Regions from separate parts of the Homo sapiens genome. Here regions 1, 2, 3, 4 and 6 are each linked to region 5. Evidence: promoter capture Hi-C in 16 types of primary human blood cells and fetal thymus (Javierre and others, 2016). All regions are on one chromosome and are shown on one strand. The core of a region is centred on a gene start or on the middle of the fragment in contact, and the rest is flanking DNA. Distances in the headings are between cores, read along the strand shown.

What was found. The method cuts DNA at HindIII sites, captures the fragments that hold promoters and counts their contacts. A CHiCAGO score of 5 or more calls a contact.
Region 1: the fragment with the promoter of KLHL24 here is called in contact with the fragment with the promoter of LAMP3 in region 5 in 1 of 17 cell types (activated CD4 T cells); the score reaches 5.3 in activated CD4 T cells.
Region 2: a contact is called between a fragment that was not itself captured here and the fragment with the promoter of LAMP3 in region 5, in 1 of 17 cell types (M2 macrophages). The highest score is 5.7, in M2 macrophages.
Region 3: a contact is called between a fragment that was not itself captured here and the fragment with the promoter of LAMP3 in region 5, in 1 of 17 cell types (M2 macrophages). The highest score is 5.1, in M2 macrophages.
Region 4: a fragment that was not itself captured here is called in contact with the fragment with the promoter of LAMP3 in region 5 in 3 of 17 cell types (erythroblasts, M1 macrophages and M2 macrophages); the score reaches 8.0 in erythroblasts.
Region 6: a contact is called between the fragment with the promoter of KLHL6-AS1 here and the fragment with the promoter of LAMP3 in region 5, in 15 of 17 cell types (fetal thymus, M1 macrophages, activated CD4 T cells and 12 more). The highest score is 12.7, in fetal thymus.

The regions. Positions count from the first base shown.
Region 1 is chr3:183,634,180-183,636,879 of GRCh38, forward strand. It overlaps KLHL24 (kelch like family member 24), which reads left to right and starts at 1,444. Exons shown (of 8, transcript NM_017644.3): 1 at 1,444-1,614. LOC107986162 (a long non-coding RNA gene) reads right to left here and starts at 2,430. Exons shown (of 2, transcript XR_001741042.2): 1 at 2,356-2,430; 2 at 1-2,105. RefSeq lists an enhancer at 1,290-1,349 and silencers at 1,770-1,879, 1,890-1,959, 2,150-2,469, 2,520-2,700. The HindIII fragment of the contact is 5,143 bases long and covers 1,091-2,700 here.
Region 2 is chr3:183,603,596-183,606,295 of GRCh38, forward strand. No RefSeq gene overlaps it. Among named protein-coding and RNA genes, the nearest start is that of KLHL24, 31 kb to the right of the region's middle. The HindIII fragment of the contact is 572 bases long and covers 1,040-1,611 here.
Region 3 is chr3:183,482,896-183,485,595 of GRCh38, forward strand. No RefSeq gene overlaps it. Among named protein-coding and RNA genes, the nearest start is that of SNORA63E, 30 kb to the left of the region's middle. The HindIII fragment of the contact is 1,704 bases long and covers 475-2,178 here.
Region 4 is chr3:183,444,287-183,446,986 of GRCh38, forward strand. No RefSeq gene overlaps it. Among named protein-coding and RNA genes, the nearest start is that of SNHG33, 2.0 kb to the right of the region's middle. The HindIII fragment of the contact is 8,371 bases long and covers 1-2,700 here.
Region 5 is chr3:183,161,406-183,164,105 of GRCh38, forward strand. It overlaps LAMP3 (lysosomal associated membrane protein 3), which reads right to left and starts at 1,329. Exons shown (of 6, transcript NM_014398.4): 1 at 1,202-1,329. The coding sequence starts at 1,250. RefSeq lists an enhancer at 508-717 and a silencer at 1,330-1,539. The HindIII fragment of the contact is 7,998 bases long and covers 1-2,700 here.
Region 6 is chr3:183,547,445-183,550,144 of GRCh38, forward strand. KLHL6-AS1 (KLHL6 antisense RNA 1) reads left to right here and starts at 1,291. Exons shown (of 2, transcript NR_046687.1): 1 at 1,291-1,519. All of the region lies in intron 1 of KLHL6 (kelch like family member 6), which reads right to left. The HindIII fragment of the contact is 1,687 bases long and covers 964-2,650 here.

The sequences.
Region 1 (2,700 bases), core at 194-2,693, 470 kb after region 5:
AGTTGTATTGAAAGCATTTTATCGTTTTAGAAAAACTAAGAGGACATTGTGATAGATCCATAATAAAATAAGCAAAGAAAGAGGATAATTATTAAAACTCCAAGGAAAACCAAAAGCCATACAAGATGGGAAATTGTATACGATTTGTCTCAACAATGAATAATAAATACATGGTCTCATTAGCGTAAACATTAATGATTTAACCAGATTATGAGAAGGATAGCTTCCTTAATAGGAAATAGTCATACATTATTTGGAAATATATAAATACCAGAAGAAATAGCTCAAATAATTGAATAAGAGATGGAAAAGAGGCCTAAAAAGTATGTTTAAAAGGCCTGTATATAGGCCTTCCATATTATTTCCGCCTCTGGTCATCAGAACACAACGCCTAATTTAATAGAGGCATGACGGTATTCATGACATGTAGAAGATAGAGATTTTTAAATTTGGTATCAGAAACCAAAAACTAGTTAAATGGTTGCAATCATCCTTTAAAAGAATACCTGCAGGCGGGGCGCAGTGGCTCATGCCTGTAATCCTAGCACTGTGGGAGGCCAAGGCAGGCGGATCACTTGAGGCCAGAAGTTCGAGACCAGCCTGGCTAACACAGCCTCTACTAAAAATACAAAACATTACCTGGGCGTGGTGGCGGGCACCTGTAGTCTCAGCTACTCGGGAGGCTAAGGCGGGAGAATCGCCTGAACCCGGGAGGCAGAGGTTGCAGTGGGCCGAGATTGCGCCACTGCACTCCACCCTGAGTGGCAGAGCGAAACTCTGTCTCAAAACGAAACAAAACAAAAAGCTTGCAGACACAAAACGACAACACAATGTCCTTTAGGAACTCCATCTACCTTGGAAAACAGGGATTTGTGACAGCTTTGGTCGACGTGCATGTGCGTTTAAAATAAAAAGGTAACCTAGGATTTGATACCAGGGACAGTAACAGCTTTATCAAAAAAAAAGAGGTGGTTTTCCTTGCTCCTTCTAAGGACTGGGGTTTTAGTCTCGTCCACCCTGCAGGCCCTCAGGCCTGATTTCCGATTGTCTATCAAAGGGTCAAATAAAAAGCTCTCTAAGCTTCGACCCAAGCTTTAAAGTCGAAGGGCTGATCGCGGGCTTTTTCCTTGGGACGTGGCAGGGGCCTTTGAGGGAAGGAAAGAAACGACTCTGGCTTCTCACTCGGCTCCTTACACAAGAGGCATTTTTTTAACTGTCTCTGCTTAAAACAAGGTGTTTTTGAGTCAGCAGCCCTTTGGGTGGGTCTCGTCCTCTTGGGCACCCGACACCCACCCCACGGCGGGAGCCCCAGGTGGCCCCGGAGGCCACCGGGAAGCGTGAACTACATCTCCCAGGGTTCCCCGGGGCGGAGGACGCCCACCCGGATTGGCCAGGGTTCGCTGACGCTCAGTGTTTTGGCCCGGACGGTCACATGTTTCCTTTGTTGTGAGCTGCGGCAGAGACTGGTGGCTGGAGGAGACGCCGGCGCTGGAGAGTGCGCTGCGCCGCCCGCCGCTGAGGGACCGCGGGGTTAGCCACTGCTGGCTGCTTCCAGTGTTCGCCGAGAGGTACCGGGGGTGACAGCTCCGGGACCGGCCGAAAGGCGAGGAACCGGTCAGAGTCTGAGTCCTCGGGGGCGGAGGGGCGACGGCGGTCCTGACCACCGGGGTGTCTGCGGGAGGGCAGCCAGCGGCGGCCGGCCTCTCAGAGCCAGACTGGCGGTCTGCGGAGAGGCTGCAGCTGGGCTACAGGGCCCCTTTCTGAGGCGAGGGGCCTCCAGGGTTCACCTGGGGGGTCTTCCTCCCCCGCTTGGTAGCTACAGCCCTGAGGGAGGGCGCGCGCGCCTCCTGGCACTACGGCCCGGAACCGCGGCGCGGCTGGTGCGGCCTGGCTAGGGCGGGGTGGTTGCCGGGACTGGGGGTAGCCGCAGGTGCGGTAGGCTAGTCGCCGCGGGGCCGGGCGCCGCCGGGGGAGGCGGCTGGGCAGACGGGTGCTGCTTGTTGCCGATGGGCTGCGAACGGGGCGCTGCTTTTTATTTCAGGAAGCCCGGGGGAGTGCGACCGCCTCAAATCCAGCCTTCTTGTTTGGTGGGACGACCGTCGGTTCTGTCCGGGAGGAATGACGGGGTCAAGGTGGGGTCCCCAGGGCCGCGGGCCCGTGAAGCCCCATTAAAGCGATTGCGAAATGCACTCGGCACTGTCACCTGACCGTTACCCCCGCCCCCGTCCCCTGCGAGCCTTTGTTTACCACGATCGCGACACCCGGCCCGCTGCGGCCGTCCCCGGGGAGCCGGGGCGGGCGGGGGAGCGGGCGTTCCGCCGGCGCAGTCCCCGCCTAACCTCCCCACCTTCTTACCACTCCAGGACTCAGTTTCTTAATTTAGTTCCTAATGGACCCGCCCTCAAGTTCTGGACACCCCGGGTGAAGACTGTTAACGCGGCGGGGATTGGGCGCCTGCGGCAGCTTGTGGGCGGTACCCGAGGGAGAGTTCGAGTTTTTATTGGCGAGTTTTTATTGTCACTAGGTGGGCCTGCCCTGGGCCATTCTTCCCGCCCCCTTGAAGGTGATCTGGAGGACGCGCGGGAGCGCGCGCTGTCGCTGCTTTTGCAGCTGCGGCCCGAGTGGAGCCGGGTGGCGCGGGTGCGGGAGGCGCGCGCTCCCGCCCCTGCTGCGGGCGGCTGGTAGCCTCGGTGGCCGCCG
Region 2 (2,700 bases), core at 76-2,575, 440 kb after region 5:
GTGAAACCCCGTCTCTACTAAAAATACAAAAATCAGCTGGGAGTGGTGGCGCGGGTGGTGGCGCGTGCCTGTAGTCCCAGCTACTCCGGAGGCTGAGGCAGGAGAACTGCTTGAATCCAGGAGGCAGAGGTTGCAGTGAGCCAAGATGGCGCCACTGCACTCCAGCCTGGGTGACAGAACAAGACTCCATCTCAAAAAAAAAGAATTCAAGAAGATGGATGCCCTATGACAGAGGTCCCCGTCGAGGGAGCTGAAATCTCACTGCCTGTTGCAGAGTTCACTCTGCCAGGAAATTCATATAACTTTGCCCCACCAAACAGTGGCTCTCACTCCTTACCATGCCATCATGGTCTTCTCTAGCCTTCCTCTTGCCTTAATGGTTTTCTAGGTAGGAAGCAAACATTGGCCTCTGTGTTTAGTATAACTAACTCCAACACCACACCATTCAACCACAACACCTCCCCAACCCCATAAACTCCAAAGTCTGCATGTCAGGCTTCCCAAGAACTCTCTTAGCTTTCAGCCCTGGCTCCATGGAAACACAGGGGCTGTGATTCCTTCTCAGCCCATCACTTGAGCACATCTCCTACCCTGCTCCTAGGCAAGCAATCTGTTATCTGTAAGATTGCTTGCTTAGAACTCCTAGACTTCTATGCTTCTTGCACCCTTAGAACTCCTAGGCTTCTATGCTTCTTGCACCCTTAGAACTCCTAGGCTTCTATGAGGCTGAAGGTGGATGACAGAGGCTGACAGTCACAGGACCAGTTCTGCCATTTTTTAGACAACCTTGAGGGGATATCTAAAATCATTCTTTAGAAATAAAGAGGAATTCTTATCAGCTTTGAGAATTTAACCAAAATTATGAGACATCAGGAAAATCCCATTCCATATTGTTTTACATTAACAATTAAGAACCAATTAAGTTCTATTTCTTGACCTGGTCACTGGTTACTTGGGTGTGTTCTGTTTTGGAAAAATGTATGGAGCTATGTGCTTATGCTCTGTTTATTTCTCTTTATTAGGTTATACTTCCATAAAAAGCTTACTTACAGGAAATTATCCAGGATTCTCCCCCAACCCTGTGTGCTGGATTCTGTGCCAGCTATTTTACATCTCTTATCTCATGTAATCAGGCTGGCTACATTTATTGAGCATCTACTATATGCCAGCAGTATGTTATATTCTTTGTTTTCTTTTGATTTTTATTGTGATGTATAACATACACATAAAAAATTCAGTTTAACAAATAGTTATAAAGTGAACATACATGTAACCACCACCCAGATCAAAAAATATATTGCCAGCACCCCAGAAGCCCCTTATGTATCTCTTCATAATCATAATCCCCTGCAATACTCTTCATATGCATTATTTAATTTAATCCTCACAAAAATCCTGGGAAGTTATTACCAGTAGCTGCAAGCTGAAAAATTCCCAGAGTTCACCCAGACCTAGGAGACATTTGAGTTCTGATCAGCCAGAAAGAAGAAACTGTATTAAGCACCTGGGGCATTCAGTAAAGACCCCAGAAGCACCACACCTTGCTTGTAGGACTACCCTAGTCCCAGAGTAAAGGATACTCTAGACCTACAATAACAAAACTTAAAAACAAGCTTCAGACAGATCAAACTGATTTTCTAATAAATTGTCTGCCAGAATAAAGTCTAACATATTTAAAAGGAAAAAAGCAAAATTGAGCACTCAACAAATGTTGAAATGTCCAGCATCCAATCAAAAATCACCAGAGTAGGCAAGAATGGTTGTGTGCACCTGTTCCCAGCTACTTAGGAGGCTGAAGCTGGAAGGTTGCTTGAGCTGGGAGTTCTAATCTAGCCTAGACAACATAGCAAGACCCTGTCCTAAAATACAATTACAAGACATACAAAGAAGTTTTTTTTTTAATTTTAAGAAGTGATCCATGACTAGAAGAAAAATCAAATTCAGAAATGACAGAGGTAATGAAATTAGCAAAAAAAACAAAAAAAAAAAAAAACAAAAAAAAACCCAAAAGCAAAAACAACTATTGTAGCTATGTTCAAGTATTTAAAAGAAAAATGAATGTAATGCAGAGAGAAATGGGAGATATAGATAAGCGCCAAATGGAAATCCCAGAGATGAAAATATAATGTTTGAAATACAAAATTTGGCCGGCTGCGGTCGCTCATGCCTGTAATCCCAGCACTTTGGGAGGCCGAGGCGGGCAGATCACGAGGTCAGGAGAGCGACACCATCCTGGCTAACACGGTGAAACCCCGTCTCTACTAAAAATACAAAAAGTTAGCCGGGCCTGGTGGCAGGCGCCTGTAGTCCCAGCTACTCGGGAGGCTGAGGCAGGAGAATGGCGTGAACCCGGGAGGCAGAGCTTGCAGTGAGCCGAGATCGTGCCACTGCACTCCAACCTGGGCGACAGAGCAAGACTCCGTCTCAAAAAAAAAAATTACTGAAAGGGTTAAACAACAATTTAGGCAGTACAGAAGAAAAGATCAGTGAACTTGGAGGCATAGAAATAGAAACTATCCAGAGAGAAAAGCACAGAAAGAAAAAAGATTGAAAAAACTGATCAGAGTTTCAGTGACCTGTAGGGCAATATAAAGTGGTATAATGGGATTACAAGATGCAGAAGTGGGGGAGTGACAGAAATAATATTAAACAAAAATATTGCTCAAATTTTCCAAATGTAATAGAAACTATAAACCTGTA
Region 3 (2,700 bases), core at 77-2,576, 320 kb after region 5:
TTACTCTGATGACATTCCAAGTGCTTACACAGGCCTCTGAGACTCCCTACCATGGCTCTGAATTTAGTCCGGCTACACAGGCCTCTTGACTGTTCCTTACTTATTTATTTATTTATTTTTGAGATGGAGTCTCACTCCGTCACCCAGGCTGGAGTGCAGTGGCGCAATCTCGGCTCACTACAAGCTCTGCCTCCCATGTTCAAGCGATCCTCCTGCCTCAGCCTCCCAAGTAGCTGGGACTACAGGGATGCCACAATGACCAGCTAAATTTTTGTGTATTTTTAGTTCAGACAGGGTTTCACCATGTTGGCCAAGCTGGTCGCGAACTCCTGACCTCAAATGACCTGCCCATCCTGGCCTGCCAAAGTGCTGGGATTACAGGCATGAGCCACCGTGCCCAGCCATGACTGTTCCTTAAATACACAGAAGCCTCCCACCTCAGAGCCTCATTAGCTCTTCCCTCTGCCTGGAGTAAGCTTCCCCAGATACTCTCAGGCCTCTCATGCTCTCTTCACTCAAGCCTCTGTTTAAGTGTCTCTATCAGAAAGGTTGGCTGTGTTCATCCTAGCTCAAGTAGCATGCATCACCCTTCCCCTGAGTTACTTTCTTTGGACATTTATCTCTACTTGTCATTATATTATATGCTTGTTTGATTCTTGCCTGTCTCTCTCTACTAGAATGTTAGCTCATGTGAGCAGAGGCTTTGTTTTGTTCACAGATGGACAGAAATCATGCCTGGCACGTAGTAGGCGCTCAATGAATATTTGTTGCATTGTTTCACAAAGACTCACCCCATTCCTTCTTTCACTAATGTCTACTTAGAACTCAGAACAAAATCTAAGGCATCATTTTTCCTACAGATTCCTCCAGTGACCTTTTCCCGGAATGTGACATTCTACCAGAATGCACTTTGACAATTAAAAACCTCAGCATTTCTTCCTAGACTAGTTTTGTCACTGTCCTAATCTTTTTCTTTTTTTTTTTTTTTTCTATTTCTGGCTTGGTCTCATGTTTCAGGGAAATTACTCAATAGATGCTCCTATTACTACATTTTTACTATGAAAGAATAGAATTTCGGCCAGGCATAGTGGCTCATGTCTGTAATCCCAGCACTTTGGGAGGCCAAGGCAGGCGGAGGCGGATCACCTGAGGCCAGGAGTTCGAGACCAGCCTGACCAACATGGCAAAACCCTGTCTCTACTAAAAATACAAAAATTAGCTGGGCGTAGTGGCAGGTGCCTGTAATCCCCGCTACTCAGGAGGCCGAGGTAGGAGAATTGCTTGAATCCAGGAGGTGGAGGTTGCAGTGAGCTGAGATCTCACCATTGCATTCCGGCCTGGGCGACAGAAAAAAACAAACAAACTCAAAAAAACAAACTAACAAAAAAACTCAAAAAACTCAAAAAAAAACCTCAAAAAACTCAACAAAACAAACAAACTAACAAAAAAACAAAGAACAGAATTTCACCAACAAAAATCCTGTTTATCTAAGGCCAGACTTACAGATTTCTCTGCGCAGTCAGGTTTTCCCTCTGCCTTCTGTGTATTGCCGCTTTGTTAAATCAAGATGATATGGTTTGGCTGTGTCCCCACCCAAATCTCATCTTGAATTGTGGCTCCATAATCCTCAGGTGTCATGGGAGAGACCTGGTGGGAGGTAATTGAATAATGGGGGTAGGTTTTTCCCGTGCTGTTCTCGTGATAGTGAGTAAGTCTCACAAGATCTGATGGTTTTATAAAGGGCAGTTCCCCTGCACAGGCACTCCTTCCTGCTGCCATGTAAGACATGTCTTTGTTCCTCCTTCACCTCCTGCCATGATTGTGAGGCCTCCCCAGCCATGTGGAACTGTGAGTCCATTAAACCTCTTTCCTTTATAAATTACCTAGTCTCGGGTATTTCTTCACAGCATATGAAAATGGACTAATACACCAGGCTTTGCCACCCTCATCTCCCCTCACCCCTGCCCTGTCTGCCCAGGTCAGTGCCCTCCAGCCTTGTACCTTTCAGATATGGGTTGTGACCTGTGACCCATTTAGTGGGTGATGAAATTAATTTGGTGGCTTGTGAACAGCATTTTAAGAAAAAAATAGAATAGGAAATACAGAAAATGTGTTTCTTATTGTGATACATGTTCAAGAAAGTTTGAAAGCACTGCTCTGGCCTGTATGGGTCAAAGAAGCTTTAGTACTATTTTTCTCTTTAGTTGCCTTCAGCAGATTCTAGAAGAAGGGGCTTCGGCACTCCTGGCCTCGCACAGTGGGCCTGTGGTGGATTGTAGAAAATGGTCAGTTCTCTTTTAAAATGCTGCCAACAGCAGCGCAGGTGGTGGGCACACCTGTTCTTTTAACTGTATCTGTTTCATAAGGTAAGTATACCTGGGACACTGAAACTCTCAGTACCAACACTCCACTCATACCCTGCGCTCAGAGACTTCACCAAACCATCGCATGGCTTCTAGCAGCCTGAGGCCACGTCCCTGGGATGGCCCAGCCCCCTTTTGAGTTGCTGTCTGGGAAAGCTTAAGGCTGTCAAAAGAATTGAGTTTGTTCCACCAACATCTGACAACAGGCCCCTGATCTTGCTTTTTTAGAGCATTTACTAAAAAAAGGAGGCTTACCATTGTGAATCCTTCCTCTGTTGCTCTGAGCTACTATGTATGTGTTGCCTACAGCTCAGGGGTGTCTTTCTCAAGGACCTGA
Region 4 (2,700 bases), core at 180-2,679, 280 kb after region 5:
TGTGCCTATATTCTGTTCGATTTTTTTCGTTCTTTTTTTTATTCTTTTATTTTCAGTTTGGGAAGTTTTTATTGATATATCTTTAATTTCACTGATTTTTTTCTTTGGATGTGTTCATTACAATAGCTAAAGCATGCATGTGGTACAAAATTTGAGTCAAAAGAGTATACAATGAAAAGGAATTTCTCCTACTTCTTTCTCTGAGCCACCACATTTTCCTTCCCAGAGGAAACACCTGTGTATACATGTAAGTAATCGTGTCTATGTTTCCTTTTGATTTTTTAAATAAAACTTATAGCATAATATATGCATTTCTGTATCTTGCTTTTTTTTATCCTTCAGTATATTTTACAGATAATTCCATATCAGTATACATGATGCAGAAACTCTAGAATTTCAATTATTTTCAATGACTGCATAGTAACCCATTGTATGTATGGCTATCCTATAATTCATCAGTTTTGCACTGATGGGCATTTAAACTCTCTTATCTTTGCTATATGAATTTAGAAATGAATTTCCTTAGTCACCCGTCATTTCAGCATGTAGGAGTACACCTGTAAGATAAATTCCTAGAAATAGAATTGCTAGGTCAAAGGTTTGTAAATTTGCAATTTGGGTACTTATTGTTAAACTGTTCTTCATAGCATTATTGCCAATTTCTGCTTCCATCAGCAAAGTATAATAATGCCTGTTTTCCTGCTACTTCCTCAATTACAGTATATTTTAAAACTTATATTTTCTAAAATGAAATATATTTTTTTATTTTGAATAAAATTGAGCCCTTTTATTCTGTATTGGTGTTTTCTGTGAACTGTTGATATTGTGTTGATTTTTCTAATGAGCTGCTAATACTGTTGAATTATAGGTACTTTCTCATGTATTAGGGAAATTAGTCCATCGTCTGTGACATGAGTTGCAATTTTTCACCCAGATTGCTGTCTGCCACTTTTAGTTTATGTACTTTTGCTGCTTTTAAATTTTTTTAAGTAATTGAATGTATCATTTTCTCTCTTACGGCATTTGGGTATTGCTTTATAAAATTTCCTGTGCTACAGAATGTATGAGGATTTAATGAAGTACACTTATACTTCATTTTTTCCATTTAATCTTTATCTGGAATTTATTTTGATGTGAGGTATGAGTTTGAGTTGGGATCCAACTTTACTTTTTCTAGATGGCTACCCAGTTGTGTCAATATCATTTGCTGAATTTTACAAGTTTTTTTAAAAATCAAGAATGTATGTTGAATTTTAACAAATACCTTTTTTGCATTTTGGAGATGACAAATTTTTCTTTTTCTTTATAACGATGTTTAGAGATGGGAGGTCTCACTACATTGCCCAGGCTGGCCTAGAGCTCCTGGGCTCAAGGGATCCTCCCACTTCAGCCTCACAAGTAGCTGGGACTACAGGCACAAGCCACTGTACCCAGCTATTTCTAGTAAAATAGAAATACTTTATTATAATTTTTATTTGATTTAGGATTTTTCCAGTAATATTCATGAGTATGAATTTTTTTTTTTTTAATTTTTTAGAGATGGAGTCTTGCTCTGTCTCCCAGGCTGGAGTGCAGTGGTGTGATCTTGGCTCACTGCAGCCTCCACCTCCCGAGTTCCAGCGATTCTCCTGCTTCAGCCTCCTGGGTAGCTGAGATTACAGGCACACACCACCAAGCCTGGCTAATTTTTGTATTTTTAGTAGAGACAGGGTTTCACCATGTTGGCCAAGCTAGTCTTGAACTCCTGACCTCAGGTGATCTGTCTGCCTTGGCCTCCCAAAGTGCTAGGATACAGGCGTGAGCCACCGCGCCCGGCCATGAGTAAGAATTTCTATGGTCAATGTATACGTATATGCTGTATGGGTGTTTTATGAGACTTTGGTATAAATGTTATGCTCACTTCATGAATAGAATTTGAAATGCTTCCTCTTTTTTCTGTGCTTAAGGCAGAATCAACAGCAACCAACTCTCTGTTCCTTAAGTTTTCACAGAATTATCCTATGAAATAATTTGGGCCTGGTGCTTCTGTGGATTCAGCTATGGAGAAATGCAGTTCTCTAATAACATCTATTTCTTTTTTTCCTTTATTTTGAGACCGAGTTTCGCTCTTGTTGCCCAGGCTGGAGTGCAATGGCACAATCTCGGCTCACCGCAACCTCCGCCTCCCGGGTTCAAGCAATTCTGCCTCAGCCTCCCGAGTAGCTGGGATTACAGGCATGTGCCACCACGCCCGGCTAATTTTGTATTTTTAGTAGAGACAGGGTTTCTCCATGTTGGTCAGGCTGGTTTCAAACTCCTGACCTCGGGTGATCTGCCCGCCTCGGCCTCTCAAAGTGCTGGGATTACAGGCGTGAGCCACCGCGCCCGGCCAACATCTATTTCTTCTATGGTAATTGGTCTACTTAGAATTTCTATCTCTGGAATGTTTTGGTAAATTATATTTTCTTGGAATCTTGTCCATTTCATTCAAGTTTTCAAATTTATTATGTAGAACTGACTGATCATGCAATGCTTTTAAGTTTTCCTGTATCTATGGTTATTTCCCCTTTATCATTTTGTATTTTGATGTGCTCCTCTTTCTTTCTTGAGCCAACCACCCTATTGTTGCCTTTTTCAAATCTCTTATTAGTATTCCCATTTCCATTTCTATTTTTTATTTTCTTCTTTTATTCTTACGAATTCCTTCTTTCGGCTTTTCTT
Region 5 (2,700 bases), core at 79-2,578:
TTTTTGAGACAGAGTCTCACTGTTACCTAGGTTGGAGTGCAGTGGCATGATCTTGGCTTACTGCAACCTCCGCCTCTTGGGTTCAAGTGATTCTCCTGCCTCAGTCTCCCGAGTACCTGGGATTACAGGCGCCCACAACCATGCCCGGCTAATTTCTGTATTTTTAGTAGAGGCGGGGTTTCACCGGTGGCCAGGCTAGTCTCGAACTCCTGACCTCAAGTGATCCGCCGGCCTCAGCCTCCCAAAGTGCTGGGATTGCAGGTGTGAGCCACCACGCCTGGCCTGTCAATACCATTGTGTTTCTGAGCCTATCCATCCATTCAAGGAGCGCTCACATACAGGTCACTGTGGGTTACCGCTAGGCTGAGATTGTTTTGCTTTTTTAATAGCTTGCCCTGTGGAGCGTGATGATGACTTCCTCTTCTGTCCCCTAAAAGAACCTGAAACTGTAAGTGTGAAAGTGTGGCGCAGGGGAGAACTGCCTAGGCAAGGGCAGCTGGCACGACCCTTCTCACCTCTTCCCTAACATTCCTAGCATTCATGTTACAAGCAAGGGCCACCGCGCCCCCTGCTTGAGCATGTTAGCCGGGCGGTAGGGACGGAGACAGTTCTCTCATGACGTTCGAGTAACCAGGAAACTTCATCACAGGGACAACACCACAGCACCCGAGGACTCAATGTCTAGGGGGAAAAGCTCTGGAGAAAGCGGAGGGTCGGATCATAAAATAATCATAAACTCAGCGTCCCAGACGGCATCTGGGATGGGAAGTACAATGATCATTTAAAAAAAAAAAAGTCTTTGACACTCTTCCTACACCTTTCTGAAATGGCACAATCTGTCAGACCACATCTGATGCAAGGAAAAGCAAGACAGGAGCGCTTTTCCCGGATAACAAAGCCAAGACTCCCATTCCTAAACCCTAGCTCAGGTCTCCATCTCTTAAATCCGAGTGACCTCTACAAACTCTCCCTGAGAAGGTGTCCAGAACCCTTTTGGAAGCGAGGGACAGTGTCACTGTCTTTGGGGTTGACACCTGCTCTGAGTAACTCACGGAAAACAAGTTCCAGCTGGGAAGCCCTTGGACGCGCCACACCTCCCTACCCGCAGCCCGTCCTGTGGCGCCCGGGACTCCAGAGTGCGTTTAGATGAAAGGGGACCGACACGTCAGGGCCACCGCGGGAAGCGCTGAGGGCCACTCACCGGCCAGGGACGCGAAGAGCGCGGCCGCCGCGCTGAGCTGCCGGGGCATGGTGGGCGCTGGGCGAGGTTCTGCAGCGTGCGGCGAAGTCCGGGCAGGCCCCGAATCGGTGCCAGAGAAACCTACCTGTGCCGGAGAAACGAAACCACCTGCTTATGAGAAGCAGCCGAAAAGCCCGCCCAGGGCCGCTGGGCGGGGAGGGAAACTCCGCCGGCCCCCTCCTACCCCTACGGAGCAGGGAGGGGCGGGGACTCGGCGCAGCCGCCGGGGCCCGGGCCTCTGGGACCGTTTACCGCACGCGCGTGGTCCCGGCAGCGCCGGCCTCCTCCGCTCATACCCTGGGTCTCCTCCTTTCTTTTTCTTTTCTTTTTGAGACGAAGTCTCGCTCTGTCGCCCAGGGTGGAGTGCAGTGGCGCGATCTCGGCTCACTACAACCTCTGCCTCCCGGGTTCAAGCGATTCTTCTGCCTCAGCCTCCCGAGTAGCTGGGATTACAGGCATGCACCACCACACCCGGCTAATTTTTGTATTTTTAGTAGAGACGGGGTGTCACCATATTGGCCAGGCTGGTCTCGAGCTCCTGACCTCGTGATTCGCCCGCCTCGACCTCCCAAAGTGCTGGGATTATAGACGTGAGCCACCGAGCCCGGCCAGGGTCTCCTCTTTTATTTCTTTTCTTTTTATTTCTTTTGTTTTGTTTTGTTTTGTTTTGTTTTTTGAGACAAAGTCTCGCTCTGTCGCCAGGCTGGAGTGCAGTGGCGGGATCTCGGCTCACTGCCCTGGTTCAAGCGATTCTCCTGCCGCAGCCTCCCGAGTAGCTGGGGTTACAGGCGCCCGCCACCACGCCCAGCTAATTTTTGTATTTTAGTAGAGACGGGGTTTCACCCTGTTGGCCAGGCTGGTCTCGATCTCCTGACCTTGTGATCCGCCCGCCTCGGCCTCCCAAAGTGTTGGGATTACAGGCGTGAGCCACTGCGCCCGGCCCAGGGTCTCCTCTTTTCTAACAGCTCGGGTACCTTTCTGGGAACCCAGAGACGCTTCTCAGCCGGGAGAAAGCCAGCCACTAGGCGAGCAGGAGCCTAAAAACCCCTAAGCACCCTGACTCCATGTCTTCCCAGGGAGTCTGCGGCAGCCGCGCTCCACGCCCAGGCCTCGCCAGGACCGCGGTTTGCGGGAAGCAACAGGAGCACAGCCCAGAGGCGCTAGGTCTGGCTGGGAGCTCGCGCTGCCGACTCCCCGGCGTGCGGCGTCGGGGAACCTCTAGGAGCCTTGGATTCTTCAGCTGTAAAACGGACATAATAATGCCCACTCCCAGTGTGTTTTTTTATTTTCTTTTTTCTTTTTCTTTCTTTGTTTTTGTTTGTTTGTTTTTGTTTTTGTTTTTGAGACAGGGTCTCACTCTGTCGCCCAGGCTGGAGGGCAATGGCGTGATCTCGGCTCACTGCAAACTTGGGTTCAGGCGATTCTCCTGCCTCAGCCTCCACAGTAGCTGGGATTACAGA
Region 6 (2,700 bases), core at 41-2,540, 390 kb after region 5:
TCACATGCATATCTTTCCATAGTTTACATGCAATTTTGCATCTTGCTTTGCCCCCTGTTTTCATTATAATATTTTTCCTACGGTGCTCCATGCTTTTCATAATGACTATTTATTATATTGCTACCAATTTCAACAGAGGCATAATATGAAAATCATTCTCTCACTGTGGACATTTAGGTTGCTTCCAGTATTTTGTTTTTATACGTGACGTGGTAATCTTTGCATTAAGCATTTTTTCCCAGTTTGGAATATGGACGGCCTACATTTTTTCAGGCACTTTGCTGGATTCTTTTTATTTCATTCAGTCTTCATAATATCAAGTAGATAGCATGGTGTCCATTTCATCCTTGGGGGAGCTCACTTTGATGGGAAGAGTGGTTTCCCCATGATGTCTAAACTGAAAACAGGCCTCTTCACAGAGAACAGAAATGTGGCTAACAGGTCATTTCCTATGACCCCTCAGCTCCCCAAGACTCTTTTGCTAGTGTAGGCTACATAAGCTGAAAATGAGGAGGAAATGTAAAAATCAGAGCCTCCTTGTGCTCATACACACATGCACAGGCAGGATACTGTTGGAACATTCATTCCAGTTTATGTCTGGGGGCTGAGCTGACAGACCCCCATAGCAGCAAGGACCCAGCATGCCTTAGGACATCAGTCTGGATCAAAGGGTTAAAAAAGAGACAAGGAAGCAGGGTCAGGGTGTGCAAGGTGAAAAGACAGTGCGCTCTGAAAATATATGGGACCTCACTGTGGCTAGAACCAGAAACTGGTTCTCACCATTTGGGAAGCCCAGCTCACTGCAAAATATGGCACACTCTGTAAGTGACAGTGACCTGTGAGGGCAGCCCTGCTGTGATTCCCAGGGTTGGCAGAGGGAGGGGAGTCCTAGTGATGAGGGGAGGGGTTATCAGGCTTTTCTCTGCCCTGTCTCATGACTGGCCCTTCCTTCATGCATAGAAAAGCTTCCAGGCTGAGGCTGAGTCATTAGCAATCTCCTTTGTTGATGCTGCTGCCTGGAATCCTTGTCTGGATTCCTGTCTCACTCCTGTCTTGTACCGCAGTCTCTAGGTCTGGTTCCTTGAGGCTATGTTGAGAGGACTTTACCCGCCAGCTACAAAAATCAGGCATAAGGCCAGGAATGGGAAGGTTATTGTGAGCACAATCTATGCACTTGTTAATCATTATTACATATTAACCAATTACTGCATGGCAGAAAAGTGGGGCAAGAGACTACTCTTAAGCCACATGTAGATGTTGTAATCCTGAGCTTTGTCTCCATAATGGGGTAAGATGTCAGAAAAGAGTCAGAAAGCCCAGGTGATAGAATAAGTGCCAAGAACATATACACCATGGAATACTGTGCAGCCATAAAAAGGAATGAGTTCATGTCCTTTGCAGGGACATGGATGAAGCTGGAAACCATCATTCTCAGCAAACTAACACAGCAACAGAAAACCAAACACCGCATGTTCTCACTCATAAGTGGGAGTTGAACAATGAGAACACATGGACACAGGTAGGGGAACAACACAACCCGTGGCCTGTCGGCGGGTGGGGGACAAGGGGAGGGAGAGCATTAGGAAAAATACTTAATGCATTCAGGGCCTAAAACCTAGATGATGGGTTGATAGGTGCAGCAAACCACCATGGCACGTGTATACCTATGTAACAAACCCGCGCATTCTGCACATGTATCCCAGAACTTAAAGTAAAATTTAAACAAATTTTAAAAAAGAGAATAAGTGCCAAGAAAAACAAGAATGAGTTAAGGCCATGTAGGTCTGTATTAAAAATCTGGCTAACAGCAAATGTGTTGAGGATTGCTGCTGCCACAGTGGGTACACTTGAGAACTCAAGTGAAGCCAATGATTGTAACACCAGGGTCAGGCCCTATATTTTCCACTTTTAATATTTTCCAATATTGTGGATCAGAACCAATATGATAGTAAATATTTCAGCATTATATATCTATAATCCCTTATCTGTAGTTTCAAAATTCCCAAAGTGCTGATAAATGTAAAGTTTTTTGTAACTTATTTCATGGCTAAATCCAACTTGAATGGCACTCGTCAGGTCGGGACACCTGAGTCTTGCTCTGTTGCCCCGGCTGGAGTGCAGTGGCATGATCTTGGCTCACTGCAACCTCCGCCTCCCAGATTCAAGCAATTCTCCTGCTTCAGCCTCCCGAGTAGCTGGGACTACAGGCATGTGCCACCACGCCCAGCTAATTTTTTGTATTTTTAGTAGAGATGGGGTTTCACCATGTTAGTGCTTGACTCTTAAATAGGAACAGATATCCAAAGACTACCAGATATTTAAGTATAGCCTCTAAAATAAAAGACAGAGGCCAGGTGTGGTGGCTCATGCTTGTAATCCTAGCACTTTGGGAGGCCGGGTCAGGAGGATCCCTTGAGCCCAGGAGTTTGAAACTATCTGGGCAACATAGGGAGACCTTGTCTCTAGGAAATAAATAAATACATACATAAAATAGAATAAAAGAGACAAAAACAAAGAGAAAAATACAGTGAAAACAAACAGTAAAAAACAAACAAAAACAGAAGAGTGGTTTTTTAAAAAATATAAACCTCAAAGAGATTAAGTGAAAATATGACCTATACAAAACAAGAACAGGATGTTATAAAAAGGAAGCTTCATACATAAAACAAGAAAAAAGTCTTGGAAGTTAAAAACTGAGAT